Linked DNA regions of Homo sapiens: all the other regions are linked to region 3. The links are contacts of gene promoters, found by promoter capture Hi-C in blood cells and fetal thymus (Javierre and others, 2016). All regions are on one chromosome and are shown on one strand. Each heading gives the region's core, a stretch centred on a gene start or on the middle of the fragment in contact. The rest is flanking DNA. Distances are from core to core; before and after follow the strand shown. Region 1 overlaps CHD9 (chromodomain helicase DNA binding protein 9). Region 2 overlaps CHD9 (chromodomain helicase DNA binding protein 9). Region 3 holds the start of RBL2 (RB transcriptional corepressor like 2). Region 4 overlaps CHD9 (chromodomain helicase DNA binding protein 9). Region 5 overlaps CHD9 (chromodomain helicase DNA binding protein 9). Region 6 overlaps CHD9 (chromodomain helicase DNA binding protein 9). Region 7 overlaps RPGRIP1L (RPGRIP1 like).

Region 1 (2,700 bases), core at 169-2,668, 170 kb after region 3:
AAATTTTAAAAGCAAATGAAACAATGTTCTTACCTAGATGATTCTGTAGCTCTCGTGTCTGTCCATCTTCAGTTGGAGTAATGAGATCCCATATGAAACCTTTAATCTTCTCATCTCCTCGGTAGTGAACAAGGCAATATGCTAAGAGAGCTCGGCAAATTATCTCTACATCGTGTTCATTTAGCTGCCTTTTGAAACGGCCATGAGATAGAATCTCTCTCCATCGGCCCCACCTGGTTAAAAAAGGTATAGTTACATTGATATTGAGTCAAGTTCTAGAGAAAAATATTAACTCATAGATAAAAGGAATGAAAAACTTTAAAAAATTGTCATTTTTGCTAATTAAGTCTTCCCTACCCATGCATAGAATGTAGAGGAATGGTATAGTAATTTCTAGTATATTTTATTCAGTAATGGATAACATCTAATTTGTATTACTGAATATGCGAATTTAAGGACAAGAAGTTTGACTTTAGTGATACTTTGAAAATTTAAATACTTGAGGATAATCTCATCATTCTGCTCTTAAATATATGCTAAAAATAGAGTACTTTAAAAGTAAATTTTAATGATTCTAAGAAGATAAAAAATATACTCAAAACCAGTATATATTTTCTGTAACATTACATACCAGACTACTTAGAGCAAACATTAAAAACAATGTTTTACCCATAAACTAGCAGGTTTTTCTCAACTCTAAAGCATTCAGTTCTTCCATAGCCATTGGAACGGTCACAGGGTCTCCGGAGTTTGGGCTTTTCATCTCCTTCACTTTCAGCTTCAGATAATTCAGCCAATTCATCTTTTGTGGCACTAAAAGGTCTTGTTTGCTTCCTAATTCTTGGAGTGTCAATAACCAAGCTGTTCTGTAAAACAGAACTGCTATTACCTGAAGGTACTTTTATGATTTTGCTTACAACAGTGTTCTACATTTTTACCTTATACAAACAATAATTACAGAAACACAGACAAAAAGAAACAACTAACAATTTCACCAACCTATTCAGTCAACTTAGAATTGCTTATATTCCTTTAGAATTCTTACTACCACACATGTAAAATTTTATGACATTATAGTCATAGGATAAAAAGAACTTGATATTTTGTATATTAATATAACATTATTGTAATCATAAAAATATTTTAAACTGAATTTATGCCTTATAATTTTTCTTTACCTAATTCATAATTTAGATTGTTCTTAATTTTTAAAATAAATAATGCTAAAGTAAATCTTTGTGGCTTAAGTTTATTCTAAAGGTAAATTCAAAAGAAGGGAAGTATCCAGAAATGGAAATACTGGTCAAAGGTTATGAATATTTTACAGCGCTTTCCAAAAGACTTAATACAAAGAAAGCAAGGCAGTTAATTGCATCAACCTCAGTATGTTCGATTCAGTTTAATTCATTCAAAACAATTTATGTTAACATACTTTTTATTTTTATTGAGAAACTTCTCTAAGCTAGGCACTATGTTATGGGCTGTGGTATAATGATGAATAAGGCTGTTTCTACTCATAAGGAATCCAAAGTTTTAGTTACACGGACAAATGTGTCACTAAACAAATGCTATTTGGGATGAAATTTTTTATGATATAAGAGGTATCACAGTCAGAGAAAATGTCACAAAGTAGTGATACTAGAAAGACTTCTTAAAGTATTAGAAGTAGTTTGCCAGGCAGTGAGGGAAGAGATAGCATTACAAGTAGAGGAAAGAGCAAGGGACCTGAAGTGGTATCAGATTTTCAGGAAATGCTTATGTCCTAGAGCAGGAGAGGACAAATGGTAGGAGAGAAGGCAGGGACCAGACCATAAAGGTCCTGGTATGCCATAATATGTATGGAATGCATTATATTTAAGGGGCATGTGATGTCCTATGACAGGTGATGTTAACTTTTGCCAAGTTTCTCCACTGTGAAGTTACTAGTTTTCCTTTTGGAATTAATATGTATTTTGGAAGATATACTTTGAAGACACATAAATATGTTGTGTCTCCTTAAACTTTTACCCACTAATTTTAGAATTCACTGATGGATCTTGTATGCTACAATTATTACTGCAGTTGATTCATGGTGATTTTTTATTTCCTTCATTCCTTCTACATTTATTAAATGGAATTCTTCCGTAAGAAAGAGTTGTCCCTTTTCCTCTTTTTCCCCTTCCCAGTTTCCTTAAAAAAAAAAACAAAAAACTAATTGTATTTTTTTCTTAATTTTCAAATGTCTTTTTCCCCAAATCTTTTGAGATTTGATACAATTTTGATCTACTTATATTAGCTTTTATGTAATAGAAACATTAACTTTCATACACATGTCTGCTACAAATAGTGTCACCAGTCTGACTGCACTTTCATTTTTCCATTACATAATTCTGTCTTGTATAGTTAAATATGCCAATCACTTCCTTTGTAATTTCTAATTTAGAATGTTTTCCCACCCAAATATTTGTGAAAAGAAATCTAATTTCTATTTTTCATGTTTTGATTAAAAAACACTTAAAAATCTTTTATCACAAATTAGAGTTTACTTGGTATAGAGCATAGGATTATAACGCTCTTCCCAAATGCTAATCCAATATCCTAATCACCATTTATTAAATCATCTTTCTTTAGCACTATTTGTATATTTCATAAACTTATACTTTGATCTTTTTCTGTTGTTATCCCATTCTTTGCTTGGTATCTTTCTGTCAGTACCATACT
Region 2 (2,700 bases), core at 102-2,601, 200 kb after region 3:
AGTTCTGAAGGCCCCTGGACTTGTGACTGGTGGAAAGGAGGGGGCAGTCTTGTGGGACTGAACCCTCAAGATGTGGGATCTGATGCTATATCTGGGTAGATGGTGAATTAGAGCTGGGTAGAACTGAATTAGAGGACAGCCAGCTGGCATCCACTGCAGAACTGACTGCTTGCTGGTCGGAAGAATTCCCCACATATTTTGGGGTTACAGAAGTCTTTTGTGTTGATTGTTGTGTTACCCTGAGAGCAGAGGAAAAACACAGTTCAAGAAAGCTTTTCTTAAACATCAGGTAAGTGTATAGTAATTGTACATGGAAAACAAAACAGGCTATCAGTATACTGAGAACAGGACTGGTTATTGAAGCTCTGCTGCTACTTAATACAGGTGTTTGCTAAAGAAAACATTTTTTAAGTGATAGCCAATGAACATTAAAATAATTAACATATATTTTAACTGCTGCTTAAAATAATTTCTGCATTAGATCATATTCTGTATAGCTTCTTTTCAGCAATCCAATCACTATTAATGATTCATTAGTTCGGGTCAGGGAAAAATTTCATTTACAGAATCTCAAAATACTTTACGTGACTTATATGCTATTTTATTTAACAGCAGTATACTGGCAAAAAGAAAGGAAAACAAAACAAAACAAAAAAACACCTCCTACATTATTTAACCATGACAGACTAGCCCTGTTGTCATCAATTTTACATTAATTAAGGGGATTAATTCTATTGGCTGAGCCCCCTTTACCAAGGCCTATAACATATATCTAAGGCATCTCTAATTTTTGAAAAGCTCCAGAAGAGATTCTGATATGCACCTTTGACTGAGAATCACTTATCTAAAGACATAGCTTATTCAGTGAGGCTTAATATTACCACTAAGGCATAGACCCCACCCCAAAAGAAAATCTTTCTCTTCTACTACATTCCTTGACTCATTCCTCTCTGAATTAGGTGACGCTTCTGTTTCCTGGTTCAAGGAATAGCATTTAGAAGGTAAAAGGAATGGGGGTAAACTGATATGCTTTTGTTAACAGCCTACGGACATTACTGGAAAATAAAGTAAGAAGACCAGAAAATAATACTAGGAAGATCAGAAAATAGTTATTATAAAACAATATGATCTCTTCTATGGAATATTTAATTCATTTCCTTCTCTTACTTCACATCTCCATGTTTATCAGGGCAGCTTTCCTCACTCTCGTGCTAATCAAAAAGGAATCTGCTCCTGTCTTTTCACATATAAACTCCCTCTTAAGCTTTGGCTCCCAAAACTAGACTCACATAGTAACAAGCCTGTTTAAAAGAAATGAAAGTAAAACATTATATAATTATTAGCAATATCATAACTTACATAAACAAGTGCTAAGATTTTATAAAGCTGTCTAAAACAGGTTCTTACCAAACGTCTTGTGTCAGGCCTTGAAGCTTGCAGTTGTTCAAACTCTTCTATTTTTGCAAGATCTACATCTTCTTTTAGTTCCCAAGTACTATCTTCATATGGCAATGAGCACCATTTTACTAAGTAGTAAATAACAGGCTGTAAAAAAATTTTTTCATTTACCATTTTGAAAAAGACACTAGTAAGAAATAGTTTAAACAGAGAATAAAGTACTAGGTCTTAATACTTGGAAAGTTTCAGATTTTTCTTACTTAAAAAATCTTTTTACCATATATTTACCTCACCAGTATCCTTATCTTCACAAAAAGAGACTTCTAATACTCTGTCTACTTCAACGTAGTCTGGGTTAAATGGTTCTTCTTCCATCTAAAATTAAAAGGTAACTTAATTGACATCTGACAAAGAACTGGAATGATAAAAGTAAGGACGAATTTACTAGCATTTCACTATAGACCTTGTAAGTTTGATTTCAGTTAAATGTCCAATAAATGGAATTCTTCCATTTTCATTTCCAAATGATAGCTAGGATAACATGAAAAATGTTATAAATAATAAAACCAAATAGTACTAAAATATAAGGTACTCTAGAAGATACGTGCTTTAAAAAATGCCTGAAAGCAGCCTCTATACCTTTCCTTTACGCTTTTCCTCAGGTTGCAAGAGTTGAAGACCATGCATCATCCCATTGAATGCTCATTTCTGTTGTCTCACACACCCTTTATCTTTACCTGATGGTTCTTGTGCTCAAGACCCACTTATTGAGCTGACTGCAAACTTTACTGAGGTACCTCAAACTCATTTGCACTCATTTACTCTTCAACCCATACCTCCTCCTGCATTTTCTAATGGTTAATGGTAACAGAGCTTCCTCTCCATAGCCCACGCTCAGTGACACAAGCCAGAAATGAAGAAGTCATTTTAGATTCCTTCTTTTTCTTTACCCTCTACATCGAGTAAGTCACCAATTCGTACAGACTCTATTTTAACTCTGAGATTGGTTCCTCCTTCTTCATCCTCACTTCTTACTTGAATCTTTAAAATAACCCCAACTACTGTCTCACCTCCCCTTTAATGTTTTTCACATTGTCCCCAGAGTAATCTTTCTCAAATATAAATCTTATATATCGCTCCTTTACTTAAAATTCTTCACCGACTCTCCCCTAATTAGTCTTAATGAAAATTTAATGATTATTACTTAATTCTAAAATCTTCAGCTTATTAGGAACTTCTAGATCATAGTGAAGAGATGACAGATATTTAAGGTGATGAGAGGACCTCCCAGCATCCACAAAC
Region 3 (2,700 bases), core at 160-2,659:
ACACTATCTTCTGCAGACCTAACAATTCAAAGAGGGAACTAGTAATTGAATTAAAATTCTATTAATGCAAATACAAATTAAAAATAACCTCACTCATCAGTACACATAGCCAAAAACATCATATTTAAATAATACCTTGGTTAGGCTTTGCATCCTGGACCTATTTGCCCGACTCTTTCTACAAATTAATTATAAAACGACTTGAGAAATCAAATGGCCTCAGGTTTAAATGCCACACACACAGTCAAACAGCTGATAAACAATCCGTACTTCCGTGTCACTTCCCATTGGCCCATGAAGGGGAGGTGCATACAAAGCTGACACTCACTGGCTAGAATGGCCATTTTTCTCATCTGCAAGCCCTGTCCGAAGGCTGCGACCTAACACACCCGGATCGCAACAACAACAGGAGTCCTGTGCAATGCCCGGGGTGACCAAAAAGCCCTCGAGGTAGCCACAGTCCTGATCCTAGTGACAAATGGGGGCATGTGTCTACATCCGGGTCGGCGGAGGGCTCATTTCATCTGGCCTGGGGGGAAATGAGTATTAATTTGTTTACACAGACGTAAACACAGCCCAAAACGCATCAGCACGTTGACTCAAACGCCCGCAACGCCAGGGCAAAGGCAATTTGGTTAACAGGGGGAAGCGAACAGACGGAGACGCCTGGAGACCCAGGTGCCACAACCCGGTTAATCGCGGTGCAAATAAGGGCAAGTCCCCTCCCCTTGTCCGTGTGGTCTTGACAACGACACTAGTTCATTCTACTAACAAGGCGGGCGGGGGGTCAGATGGGCCACACACACCCATTTTCCTCAACGGGACCCCAGCGCGATCTCAGCCTTGCTGTGCTACTTTAGGGCAAGACGCGTTCCCCATTCGGAAGCCGCAGGAAAGCGCGGCGAGAGCGGGTTAGCCCTCGGAGCGGCTAAGAGCCTCGGAATAGCGCAGAGGAAGTCCCCACCCCTCTCGGGGCTGGGAGCCCGCAACCCGCCCGAGAGTCTCTCGAGGCGCGCGACGCGGCTCGGAAGGCACCGGTTCACGCCAACTAGGCCGGAAGCGCCCCTCCGCCCGCGAGCGCACCTCCAGCGTGTAGCTTTCGCTCATGCTGCGGTAGCTGTCCCAGGCCTCGGCCCGCGCCGCCTCGTCCATGTTGAGGCGGCTGCACAGCTCGTCGAACCGCTGCTGGATCTGAGGGGTGGGCGACTCGGCAGGCGGCGCGGCGTCTTCCGCCTCGCCGTCGTCCTCCTCCTCCTCATCCGAGGCTGCCGCCGCCGGAGGGGGAGGCGGGGGCGGTGGCGACTGGTCACCTCCCGACGGCATAGCGCACCCCTGGGCGGCCGGACCTCAGGTGAGGTGAGGGCCCGGGCCCGCAGCCATTCAAACGGCGAAGCGCCCGCCCGTCCGCCGCCCGCACCGCGCCTGCGCCGCCGCAAACGACGCTGACCGCCTGCAGGCACCCGTAGTCTTGAGCACGGGCTGCTGGGAAACGTAGTCCAGGCCGGCGGTTCAAGGGGGCCAAAAATCATGTTTAAAAAAATTAGCTCCCCTAGTTTCACCAGGGGTGAAATAAAAGCACCTTCCCCGCATTTTAAACACGTACCTCCCCACCGTGAGAACATTCAACAGGGCTGTACTGACGAGAAAATGTCCAAAAGACACTGACGTGTGAAGGTTTCGTATCCAGGCTGTTCCCAGAAGTAAAACTTCCTCATCGCCTGGATATCCTTATCTAAAAAATAGGGATAATAGCAAGGGCCTGTCTCTGTACGTTCACGAAACTGCCTTTGCAAAAATCCTAACAGTGAGAAAGTTATGACAGTGCAAGGGATCTGACCTAAATGACTCCACGCTTCTCACTTCCGAGCTGCCCTTGTTCATTCCTGGGCGAAGACCTAACTAACTACAGGAGGAATTTAATTTCTAATTTCACTTTGAAACAAAGATTGTAACAGTCCTTTCCAAAAACAAACCCCATTCTTGCCTGGGGATCAGTCTGCCTTTGTAGAACTAACAAATTAGCCACAAGATTAGAAATTATGATTTAGGAGGCTTGCAGCCAGAGGCTATAAGATTCCTGACCTCCCCAATTGCTCTCAGGGATAACATCACTATTGTAAAACCTAAGATTGGTGCTGGAGATACTTTTCAGACCGCGCATTCCGATGCACTAGCTGGCGCCACTCAGACCATAATCTGGCTCAACAAGTTCTGCAATTCCACTCAGTAACAGAAGACAGCAAGAGCCCACTTCAACCCCCTGTGATTTCACCTCCCACCTGACAAATTAGCATTCGCCAATCCCTGGCCCCCTACCCGCCAAGTCATTCTTTAAAAACCCCAGTCTCCGAATTTTCTGGTAGGCTGATTTGAATAACCAAACTCCTGTCTGCCGTTCAGCTGGCTCTGCGTGAATTAAACTTTTTTTTTTTTTTTGAGACAGAGTCTGGCTCTGTTGCCCAGGCTGGAGTGTAGTGGCACGATCTCGGCTCACTGCAACCTCCGCCTCCTGGGTTCAAGCGATTCTCCTGCCTCAGCCTCCTGAGTATCTGGGATTACAGGTGTGCGCCACCGCACCCAGCTAATTTTTGTATTTTCAGTACAGGCAGGGTTTCACCATGTTGGCCAGGCTGGTCTCGAACTCCTGACCTCAAGTGATCCACCCACCTCGGCCTCCCAAAGTTCTGGGATTACAGGCGT
Region 4 (2,700 bases), core at 30-2,529, 240 kb after region 3:
AGATTACACTTAAAATGGGTACATTTCATTGTATGTAAATTATGCCTCAATAAAATTGATTTTAAAATGTACTTACTAAGTGGACATATGTAACAGGATTAATTTTACCCTGACTTATCTGTTTAATAACTCCTCTTCTTTTATTAGTTTTAATTATTTGACTACAAAGTAAAATTAGATTATATTATACTAATTTCTATAATTTATGCTGGCCTGTTGTTAGTGGCAGATACTCAATTTAGAAAATATTTGCTAATAACCTATTACATAGAGGTACAAAAAACAGACTCTCTGGGAAACACACCAGAGATATGGGGAAAATGGTAAATCAATATAAACTAGAGGGGCAAGGAAGACTTGAAAGTGTTCTCAGAAAATAAGCTAATTTTTATAATGATGAGATAATAAGATATTCAATGGAGGAAGATAAGCATAACCAAAGGCATAACAAGTGAAATAACTGTGTAGAAAAAAATTTCGTAAGTTATATTCCAGGAAATTGTGAGATATTAAAACACTCAGATTCATGTAAAATTCTGAGATGCAGCCTTGTATTTCCTCCTCCTTGGCGCGTCATGATAAAGCTTAACATATTAAAGGCTCATTCTCAGAGTCCACAGAGAACGAGCAGAAAATGAGCTTGAATGGATTGGGTAGCAAAACTATAAAATTTTTGATTCTCAGTGTAGACAAAAACAACTCTTTTATATCTTTCAAAACCCATTTTATTTCTTCTAGTATAAAACGTTTTTAATTGAGAAAGAAATTAGGTTTGTCTCCACCCACCTCTACCATCTGGAAAGAAAGCCATATTGTAAACTGCTATAATCTTACAAATAGAGAGATTTAATCAGTAATTTGCTCTTCAATGGGAAAGGTGATATTAAGAATAATTTGGGGACCAATGTGGACCAGAAGTTTGTTGGTTCTGTTCTAGTTTGGGAGGTAGGGTTGGGGGAAAATCATGGTTCAATGTGACATTTTTAGAATACTCAAAAGTATTTTAAATAAGAGGTTGAGGGATAATAAATGTAATATTAAAGTGTATCCCCATAATATAGATGCAAAAAAACAAGTACAAAAGTACTTAAATGATTACAGGTCACATATACTGTCAACATTAGCTTTCCGTCTATTTTGTTGATCTCAAATATTTGAATAAAATATATCTTCATTTATACCTCCGCTATCATCCTGTAAGACATGGAAAAAATTGCACAGTCTACAAATGCACTAAAGTCTGATAAAAGGCTATAAAAATATTTTGCTAATTGTTCAGTTTAATGCAATTATCCAGGATGACCCATTAAAGCCAAAATACAAACACAGCAAACGCTAGTACAAATCATAAATTCAAACTGCAGAGCAGTATCTTTTGCTAATACAGACACAAATATTTTCAACAAAATAATAGCAAACCTAATCCAGGAAAAAAAAATATATATAATACATATATATATAGAGAGAGAGATACATACCATCGACAAGTAGGATTTATTTTAGGAGTGCAAGGCTAATATCTGAAAATCATATCAACAGAATAAAGAATAAAAACTAAAATGATCACAAATAAAAACTAAATGCGATGAAGAAAAAGAATCTGACAAAGTTTCAACATCTTTTCATGATAAAAACACAAAACAAACTAGGAATAAAAAGAAACCTTTGCAACATAATAAAAGGCATGTATGAAAAACCCACAACTAACATCATACAGTACTTAATGGTGAAAGACTGAATGCTTTTCCCTAAGATCATGAACAAGACAAGGTTATCTACTCTTGTCACTTCTATTCAACACTGTTCTGAAAATTCTAGTCAGGGCAATTAGAAGAGAAAAAGCAATAAAAAACACCTAGATTGGAAAGCAAGAAATAAAATTATCTTTAATCTTTATATTTGGAAGCTACGATCTTTCAAATGAAAAAAAAACCCAAGGAAATCTGCAAATCAAATATCTGATGTCAAGCTTTTTCAATTTAAAAAACCTGATAAGAGATTTGTATCTAAAATATATAAATAACTCCTACAAATCAGTAACAAAAATAAGTAACCCAATTTAAATATGGGCAAAAGATCTGAATAGACATTTCTCTAAAAAAAAGATACAATGCTAGGCACGGTAGCTCACGCCTGTAATCCCAGCACCTTGGGAGGCTGAGGTGGGCAGATCACCTGAGGTCAAGAGTTTGACACCAGCCTTGCCAACAAGATGAAACTAAAAATACAAAAAATTAGCCAGGCGTGGTGGCAAGCACCTGTAATTGCAGCTACTCGGGAGGCTGAGGCAGAAGAACTGCTTGAACCTGGGAGGTGGAGGTTGCAGTGAGCCGAGATGGTACCACTGCACGCCAGCTTCCATCTCAAAAAAAAAAAAAAAAAAAAAAAAAAAAGGTAATGACCAGTAAGCCCATGAAAAAATGCTCAGTATCATTAGCAATCAGGGAAATGCAAATCAAAACCACAACAAGACATTACTTTATACCAAGATGGCTACAATAAAAAAAAGACATAAAAACAGGCATTGGCAAGTATGGAAAAATTGGAACCCTTATACACTACCTGTGGGAATGTAAAATGGTACAGCTGCTCTGGAAAAATATAAAAGTTACCCAAAAGGTCAAACATAAGAAAGAATTATATAATCCAGCAATTCCATTCCTAGGAATATATGCAAGAGAAAAGAAAGCCTGTATGGGA
Region 5 (2,700 bases), core at 197-2,696, 190 kb after region 3:
TTAAAATTCTGAAATTTTAATTTTATTACAAATAAATTATTCTTAAAGCTTAGGTCTCTCTCAAGTTTACATAATATTCTTTAAACTATAAAAATATCAGGCCAGGCGTGATGATGCGTGCCTGTAAACCCAGCACTTTTGGAGGCCAAGATGGGAGGAATGCTTGAGTCCTGGGGTTCAAGACCAGCCTGGGCAACATAGTGAGACCTCATATCTAAATAAACAAACAAAAAGTACTGTACTCAATTAGGTATAATTTTTTATAAGCTAGTAAGACATATAAGTTAGTGAGACATATAAAAAAGTAAAAATTTTTGTCATTATAGTTTTTATCATAACAATTAAAATAACTTCACCTATTTTATTTGGCACAGATATTTCATAGAGAAACATACATTAGTTTGTCCAGATAAAAATAAAAGATGTGGATTACCAAAAAGTTACACAATTTTACTTTTTTAAAAAATGCATTTTTTGTTAGCCAAGGAAATTATTTACCTGAAGATCATTCTGAGGATTCCAATCAGAATCAAAAATTATACATGTATCAGCTGCAGTTAAGTTGATGCCCAACCCACCAGCTCGGGTACACAGGAGAAAAACAAATCTATCTGAATCAGGTTTACTAAATCTATCTATAGCAGCTTGCCGAAGATTTCCTCTGACTCTGCCATCAATTCGCTCATATAAGTATCTATGGAATGAAATGGAATAAATTTACATAAATAAGTATAATAAAACTGAAGACATATTCTATCAAATGTAAAGTCAGTTTTCCTGCAGCATTATGTTTTCTCTAAAATTAAGAAGCAATATCATCTCAAGTAGTTTCTGTGACTTTATACTTTTTGGTGTTGGTGTTAAGGAGAAAACAAAAACTAATATAAAGATACAAAACCTCTGAATTCCCAGATGTATAGGTAAAAGAACACTACAATAAATTTTATTTCAGAAGTTAGAATAACAAAAGGCAGTCTATAAAAACTGCTTTGCTGATCTCATCATAATATATTACTTTTTTGCAAGAAATACTTTCACAAAAACTTTATACAAGAAGGCTATGAATGTTTCTTTTGTCCTTAATCCATGTTACTCTCGACTGACATACTTGCTTCTATATTGCAATCTATTAAGAATACACTGGAATGCTGTTGAATTCTTTATAGTCATTACTGCAAAGTGATTATCTTTTAACTTCCTTTATCCTTCCCCATTTAACATATACAAAACTCAAAAACTGCAAGACATCAAATAAAAATAAAATACATAAAAATTTAGGAGCTTGGACTCTAAGTGGTATACATATGACATCTGACACACTTCTACATATGATTTACTAGAGTTTTAGCAGTCTCTCCGCGGTTATCTCTGGTACCTGCAAAATGGAGACTTCTAATAATGTTTGTTATGACAATAAAGAAACTCTGAATTTTCCATGAAATTTATTACAACAGAAATTGATAAGTAATTTTATCTGTATGAAGTTCTCCACGTAAGAAGATTAAAAAAATATAAGAATTACTATTTTTGGGAACAGTGCAACTTAATGTTCGTATCACATGATATAAAATTGAGAATACTATACATTTTAAAATGAGGCTAAAGAGTAGGACATTGACAATAAAAATGGAACTAGAAATAAAAATGAAAAATAAAAATGAACTACATAATCTCTAATAATATAAATCAGTATAGACCTTTACTTATCTATATGGGTTAAAATCTATTGAATTAAAATCTGCAAGCCAGGTGCAGTGGCTCATGCCTATAATCCTAGCACTTTGGGAGGCTGAGGTGGAAGAACTGCTTGAGCCCAGGAGTTTGAGATCGGCTTGGGCAACACAGTGAGACCCTGTCTCTACCCAAAATAAATTAGCTGGGTGTGGTAGTGCATGCTTGTAGTCCCAGCTTCCTGGGAGGCTGAGGTGGGAGGATTGCTTGAGCTCAGGAGTTCGAGGTTGCAATGAGCTATGATCACACCACTGCACAACACCCTGGGCAACACAGTGAGACCCTGTCTTCAAAAAAAAAAAAAAAACAAAAAAAAAAACCAACAAAGCAAAAACAAACAAAAAAAAATAAAATAAAAAATCTATAGCTGAAATTTCTGATTCTCTTTTACATTAATATGTTACTATCAGATGGAATCCTAATGGTCTGATAAAATATCCTACGATAATTAGCCTATTATAGCCTAAATACTGATTAGACAATTTTTTTTTTTTTTTTGAGACAGAGTTTCGCTCTGTCGCCCAGGCTGGAGTGCAGAGGCACGATCTCGGCTCACTGCAAGCTCTGCCTCCCAGGTTCACGCCATTCTCCCGCCTCAGCCTCCCGAATAGCTGGGACTACAGGTGCCCGCCATCATGCCCGGCTGATTTTTTGTATTTTTTTTTTTTTTAGTAGAGACGTGGGTTTCACCGTGTAAGCCACGATGGTCTTGATCTCCTGACCTCATGATCCGCCTGCCTCAGGCTCCCAAAGTGCTGGGATTACAGACGTGAGCCACCGCGCCCGGCCTGATTAGACAATATTTAACACTATCTTATTGTGATGTACCAATAAACAAAACAAAACAAAAAACCCACATTGAAACAAATCAGAAAAAATTAAAGCATGAACAAATTTTATATAGTATATAATAAGAATAAAAGTCCCACAACTTAAGGCTCTAATTATAACAATGAAATAGATCCAAAG
Region 6 (2,700 bases), core at 177-2,676, 220 kb after region 3:
AACACTATGAGGCAAGTACTATCCTATCCCCATTTTACAGAGGAGGAACCTAAAGCATGAGGATGTTAGCTTTTTGTACAGGATTACACTGCTTGTAAGTGATGAAACTGGAATCTGAACAAATGCAACTGGCTCCAGAGGCAAAGAATTTAACCCCATTATCACACTGTATGCCCACTCTAACTCACAGAATTGTAAAAATGAAATGAGACTCTAAGAAAGTGCTCCGAAAAGGACATTCTATTCTTTGCATTGGAAAAAAAGTTAATCTGTAAAAGTGACAACGAAAAGGTTTCAAGCACATTAGCAAGCAGGGGCAGTATTGCTTTTCTTCAGATTAGTCTTCCTAGATTACATCAAATCACATATATGGGTTAAATAAACACCAACCCTGATGACATCAACCATAAATTATTGTTTACAAATTTAGTTACTTTAAAAAAAATTTTTTTTTTTTTTTTGAGATGGAATCTCGCTCTGTCAGCCAGGCTGGAGTGCAGTGGTGCAATCTCGGCTCACTGCAACCTCTGCCTCCCAGGTTCACGCCATTCTCCTGCCTCAGCCTCCCGAGTAGCTGGCACTACAGGTGCCCACCACCACGCCTGGCTAATTTTGTTTTTGTATTTTTAGTAGAGATGGGGTTTCACGGTGTTAGCTAGGATGGTCTCAATCTCCTGACCTCGTGATCCGCCCGCCTCGGCCTCCCAAAGTGCTGGGATTACAGGCATGAGCCACCGCGCCCAGCCATTAATTTTAAAATTTATATTTTACACTGCTGTTGATTAAGTTGCACTGCTTTCCAAATTAACTAATATCAATAATTTGGTATTAGGAACAGCCCAATTGTCCTAAAATTAATAGAAAAATAAAAAATTTTAAATGAGATGTTTAATTATAAAATGGTGCTAGTTGAAATGATGCAACTGAACTTTACTTAAATGATTCTTCACTCAAAAATTTAAAACTCACCAAATTCAAAATTACAAAGTATAGTGGCTTATTGGAAAGCACAGTAATGAAATATTTCATTGGCTAATACTGGAATTCTGGATTGTATATGAATTTCATTTATTCCAACTATGCCTTTTCCTCCAACATGACAATAATTTTTGTCTTTGACTGATATAAATGATTGACACTGTTTTACTCTAACAGCTTAGTAATACATATGCAAACTTCAATACTACTTATCTGCCTGCGACTTATAAATTCTTCTATCAATTCACTTATCTGCCTGCGACTTATAAATTCTTCTATCAAAAAGGCCTATATTTTCAACAATTTTTCTTTTCTAGCAACTACTCAATATTTTACCATGTATTTAGCCAAAACAAAAAAAAATTTCTAGTACAATTCTTATCGATTTTGTTTTCTAGAATTTGCTACCTCTAGAAAAATTGGTCAATGTTGTGCAATATTAAAATAATTTACTATGAATAATTTACCTACTCCTAACAAAAACACAGATATCACAAAACTAGTCAGTACTCCGCTTCAGTGTTACTACTCCCCTTACTATATTAATTCACTTTTCTAAAAATCTGTGTTTCTAATTTAATTATTTCTAGTTATCTCTTATGTACAATGTTTTTTCTTAAACTAGATTTACTTCTGGTATCTTTTGCCTTTAGCTGTTCCTTCCCAAGTTTGAGGCAAGTAACGGTTAGTGTAACTTTTAAAAGTTTATCAACCAATTTCCTCATTTTATGCATTGTTTTTCAAAACGTTACTCTTCCAAATAGTATTCTACTCTGTCTAGATCTCTGAACAAGTTAAAACTGGAAACCCTTAATTATATTAAATTTTGGTTCAGCAAAAGACTAAATATGGGATTTCCTGAATTAAAACTGGGCAGAGCTTTGGAAAAATAAGTTACTTTCATACCTAAAACCTCTAAAAAAACAATAAAAGAAGTAGAAATCTTTCAAATTTCATTTTAGCTGTCTGCAAGTAAAATGCAAAATCAATATGATTATTAATCTATTATAACAAGAGAGCCCATATTATTTAATCGTTTGGACCTGAATGACATAAGGACCAAACTAAATAATTTGGCGGTTACATTTAAAATGCTAAGAATTCATTTGATTTATAAAATTGCATTAGTTCTAAATATCTATATAATATATCAACAATTTCTGAGCAAATGAAGATTTTCACAATAAAGACATTCTTTATTGCGGACTTTTTGTGAAAAAGAGAAAAGTTAGATTGACCCCTTTATGTCAAATTTCCACATGAAGTCCTCAAAAATAACCAGTCCTGAAAAAACAATTCTAAACTATGTTGGCTTAGTTATGCTTACCCTTGCATGCTAAGCAAATACACCTATAAAGCAAATTATAACATTTACTGTATTTTATTTTTTGAAAATATTTTGGATAAGCAGTAAAATACATAGGATTAATATATCCTCCTAGAGCAATTCTTTGTCCTTATAATTCTCTTGGAGCATTAATCCTCACCTGGCCTCTTTATTACGTAAAGTAAATCAGACTATATGGAAGTAAATCAGTAAGAACTGGCAACCACTTATTGTTGATTTATATGGTATTAGTGTTTTTTTTTTTTTTTTGCCATTTCATTCAGTCCAAAGTTGTGGTTTTATTAAGAAAATATTACATTTCATGTTTCCAAACTATGAGTGCTCAGTGAGGCACAAGTACAACCAAGAGAAAAAGAATCTTATAAAGAATTTCA
Region 7 (2,700 bases), core at 181-2,680, 250 kb before region 3:
ATTTTTTCATGGTATATGTAGGAAAAGCGTAAGAATTAGCATTACTGCCAAAATAATACAATTGGCAAATTCTAACACAGTAAACTATTTTAATGTTTTAGGCAGAGCCTTTTCTATTCTTCTGGATTACAGCAATAGATATTGACTACTTTGGAAAGAGCGAGTAATAGTTCCATTGTTCTAGTTAAAATTCTCTTTTTTCTTTATTTAAATTTTCTCTTTACTGAGAATATGCAGAGCAATGAAATCTCACGTTTAAAAAGTTAACTTTTCTAAAGGAATAAATTTGTTGTTTTGTTCTCCATTTAAAAACCTTAATCATCTGTGATGCTTTATCTACCTTAAACTCTAATATTTAGTTATTCTATAAATGTAAAATAACTCACATAATTAAGAATATGCCTTATTTTAAACAATGGGACTGTCTTTGTAAAATTCTACAGATTTCTATAAGAAAAATTATATTTTAAGTGCAGCAGGGAAATGTTTTATTTAAAGGAATTCTTGCGATGATCCATTCTCAAAGTACCTTTTCATAAATAGGGATTTTGTTATTGGGGTGGAATAAATCAAAATACAGAAAACATTTTTACTTAAACATTTAAGGGCAAGGAATATGAATAATTTAAAAATTTAAAAAACCCTTATCACAAACACTGGGGAAAAAATCAGGTTTTTATAACCTATTTACATTGTTAAAACTTGAATAGAAGACTGATTTATTTCAGAAATTACTGCAGGAGTCTAAATCTTAAGTTGAATAAAATTATTTCTAGGTAATTTGATTTCTACAGTAGATTTGTAAAATGAGCAATACTTGCTGCTGTGTTTTATTTAATGCCTACTGGTGGCTGAGATCACATATTCCCTTTGGCAGTGTATTTATAATTCTGTGTACTATAAAACACATACCTCTTAATACTTAAGAGATTTTATTATAAATATCCTTATTATAGCAAATCAAAGATCCTTCTTTTCTAACTTCAATTCTGTAATCATATTTTATTACTTTGTTTTTAGGTATAAAATTCCAAGATGCAGATGTAGCAGAAACTCCACATCCCATGTTTACAAAATATGGCAACAGTTTACTTGAAGAAGCCAGAGGAGAAATAAGAAATTTGTATGTGTTCTTTTTTGTGGTAATTTGAGAACTTTGGTTATTGATAATGTCTTTTTTTTTTATCCTTCCCTTTCCTTTATTTATATGTAAACAGTTTGCTCCACTGAAATACAGCTATGTTCTGTAGGGTAACAACAGATGTTATATAACATGTTCTCAGAAAAAGGAAAATGAAGAACTTATCCAGCTGCCTCAATGGAAGGATTTATGTAATAGTCTTCTTTATTATAATTTGACCCTCAGAGGAATGGCATAAAGTCCAGTCAGTTAGAATAGTGTAAGATTTAGAGGCAACATTTTTATTCCCAGAAAATCACAGGTAATTTTTTTAGATCCTGAATCAATTAGCCCTTTTCTTGGTTAAAAAAAATAAATAAAGAATTGGGGAGTGGCATAAAAGTTTGGAGTTATCAGATACATATGGATTTCAGATTTTGTTTTCGTATGATTCTATGGCACTGCATTCTTCATCATATGGTTTCAAAAAAGTTACTTCTGCCACATTTAGCTTACTTTTCTAGTTAATCCAAGCCTCATGGTTTCAGTGTCTGTGAGTTACACAAATGAAGGTAAGGTTCCACTTTAAGCCTTCACCTGGATCATCAAAAAGTAACAATACTTCATGAGAAAAGAAAACATGGCGCACAGTATCATACTTAAGATAGTTGCTTAAGAATAATATGGTCTTCAAATGTTTCCTTTTGAATATTTTAAATAGCAGCTACAGTAATGATTAGCCTGCAGGAAAATAAAAGACTAGACATAACCTTGTTACCTGATGATCACCTGAAAAGCCAACGTTTATACCGGTTCCTGAGACTCATTACAGTGTGATGCTGCCAGACATGATAGAGATAAATGCATGCCAGAGACCACTAAGTTATATTTGGCAAATTTCCTGCCCTCTCTCTCTGAAGTGTTAATTTGGGTGTTATAAGCAGATGTGCATATATGAAAGAACAAAGACATATAAATATTCTGAAGACCAGATTGTGGCATACATAGTAGGTGTACTCCACAATAAATACTTACTCAATTGAATCAAACCAAAGTCCAATCCATTGCCTAGGACATTATCTTATAAAAAGCAGTATCTTGCATTGTTCCGTATGTATTTCCAAGTCATCACATTTAATCTGCTACTATTTCACTGTGTGCAGAGGCACTTAAGCTAAATTTTTTAACTTCTGCTTGCTCTTTTTCATGAAGAACTTTCTTTGCACTGATCTTAACTATTGAAAAATTTTCCTCAAACTACAAGTTCTTACAGAGGCTCTTTATTTCAGAGAAAACGTTATTCAGTCACAAAGAGGCCAGATAGAGGAGTTAGAGCACTTGGCTGAGATCCTGAAAACTCAGTTGAGGAGAAAAGAAAATGAAATTGAGTTATCTCTTCTTCAGCTTCGAGAACAGCAAGCTACAGATCAAAGGTATGTTAAAACAGAAATATCACTTTGATAAGGTCAAAATTAGTTTAAAATACTTTATCATGTGCCATAAAAGGATAAGTTTATCTAGTCTATTTAAAAATCATGTTTTTACTTAACATTCTTCATATAAGCCTATGCTCGACCTAC

The links. Contacts are between HindIII fragments. The CHiCAGO score rates a contact against its expected background, and 5 or more counts as called.
Region 1: a contact is called between a fragment that was not itself captured here and the fragment with the promoter of RBL2 in region 3, in 6 of 17 cell types (neutrophils, naive CD4 T cells, monocytes and 3 more). The highest score is 12.8, in neutrophils.
Region 2: a fragment that was not itself captured here is called in contact with the fragment with the promoter of RBL2 in region 3 in 5 of 17 cell types (neutrophils, monocytes, M2 macrophages and 2 more); the score reaches 10.3 in neutrophils.
Region 4: a fragment that was not itself captured here is called in contact with the fragment with the promoter of RBL2 in region 3 in 4 of 17 cell types (neutrophils, monocytes, non-activated CD4 T cells and 1 more); the score reaches 12.0 in neutrophils.
Region 5: a contact is called between a fragment that was not itself captured here and the fragment with the promoter of RBL2 in region 3, in 7 of 17 cell types (neutrophils, naive CD8 T cells, total CD8 T cells and 4 more). The highest score is 10.3, in neutrophils.
Region 6: a fragment that was not itself captured here is called in contact with the fragment with the promoter of RBL2 in region 3 in 7 of 17 cell types (neutrophils, monocytes, naive CD4 T cells and 4 more); the score reaches 19.2 in neutrophils.
Region 7: a contact is called between a fragment that was not itself captured here and the fragment with the promoter of RBL2 in region 3, in 2 of 17 cell types (neutrophils and total CD4 T cells). The highest score is 7.4, in neutrophils.

What each region holds. Positions count from the first base shown.
Region 1 is chr16:53,265,460-53,268,159 of GRCh38, reverse strand. It overlaps CHD9 (chromodomain helicase DNA binding protein 9), which reads right to left. Exons shown (of 39, transcript NM_001308319.2): 21 at 670-866; 22 at 34-233. Among named protein-coding and RNA genes, the nearest start is that of RBL2, 170 kb to the left of the region's middle. The HindIII fragment of the contact is 3,841 bases long and covers 1-2,700 here.
Region 2 is chr16:53,230,492-53,233,191 of GRCh38, reverse strand. It overlaps CHD9 (chromodomain helicase DNA binding protein 9), which reads right to left. Exons shown (of 39, transcript NM_001308319.2): 9 at 1,687-1,773; 10 at 1,408-1,545. Among named protein-coding and RNA genes, the nearest start is that of CHD9, 180 kb to the right of the region's middle. The HindIII fragment of the contact is 169 bases long and covers 1,267-1,435 here.
Region 3 is chr16:53,433,180-53,435,879 of GRCh38, reverse strand. RBL2 (RB transcriptional corepressor like 2) reads right to left here and starts at 1,409. Exons shown (of 22, transcript NM_005611.4): 1 at 1,084-1,409. The coding sequence starts at 1,323. RefSeq lists an enhancer at 415-524 and a silencer at 1,135-1,354. The HindIII fragment of the contact is 5,814 bases long and covers 1-2,700 here.
Region 4 is chr16:53,188,296-53,190,995 of GRCh38, reverse strand. All of the region lies in intron 2 of CHD9 (chromodomain helicase DNA binding protein 9), which reads right to left. Among named protein-coding and RNA genes, the nearest start is that of CHD9, 130 kb to the right of the region's middle. The HindIII fragment of the contact is 1,385 bases long and covers 587-1,971 here.
Region 5 is chr16:53,247,865-53,250,564 of GRCh38, reverse strand. It overlaps CHD9 (chromodomain helicase DNA binding protein 9), which reads right to left. Exons shown (of 39, transcript NM_001308319.2): 17 at 499-694. Among named protein-coding and RNA genes, the nearest start is that of RBL2, 190 kb to the left of the region's middle. The HindIII fragment of the contact is 2,792 bases long and covers 51-2,700 here.
Region 6 is chr16:53,210,166-53,212,865 of GRCh38, reverse strand. All of the region lies in intron 3 of CHD9 (chromodomain helicase DNA binding protein 9), which reads right to left. Among named protein-coding and RNA genes, the nearest start is that of CHD9, 160 kb to the right of the region's middle. The HindIII fragment of the contact is 7,899 bases long and covers 1-2,700 here.
Region 7 is chr16:53,686,286-53,688,985 of GRCh38, reverse strand. It overlaps RPGRIP1L (RPGRIP1 like), which reads left to right. Exons shown (of 27, transcript NM_015272.5): 5 at 1,021-1,123; 6 at 2,410-2,553. Among named protein-coding and RNA genes, the nearest start is that of RPGRIP1L, 16 kb to the left of the region's middle. The HindIII fragment of the contact is 8,993 bases long and covers 1-2,700 here.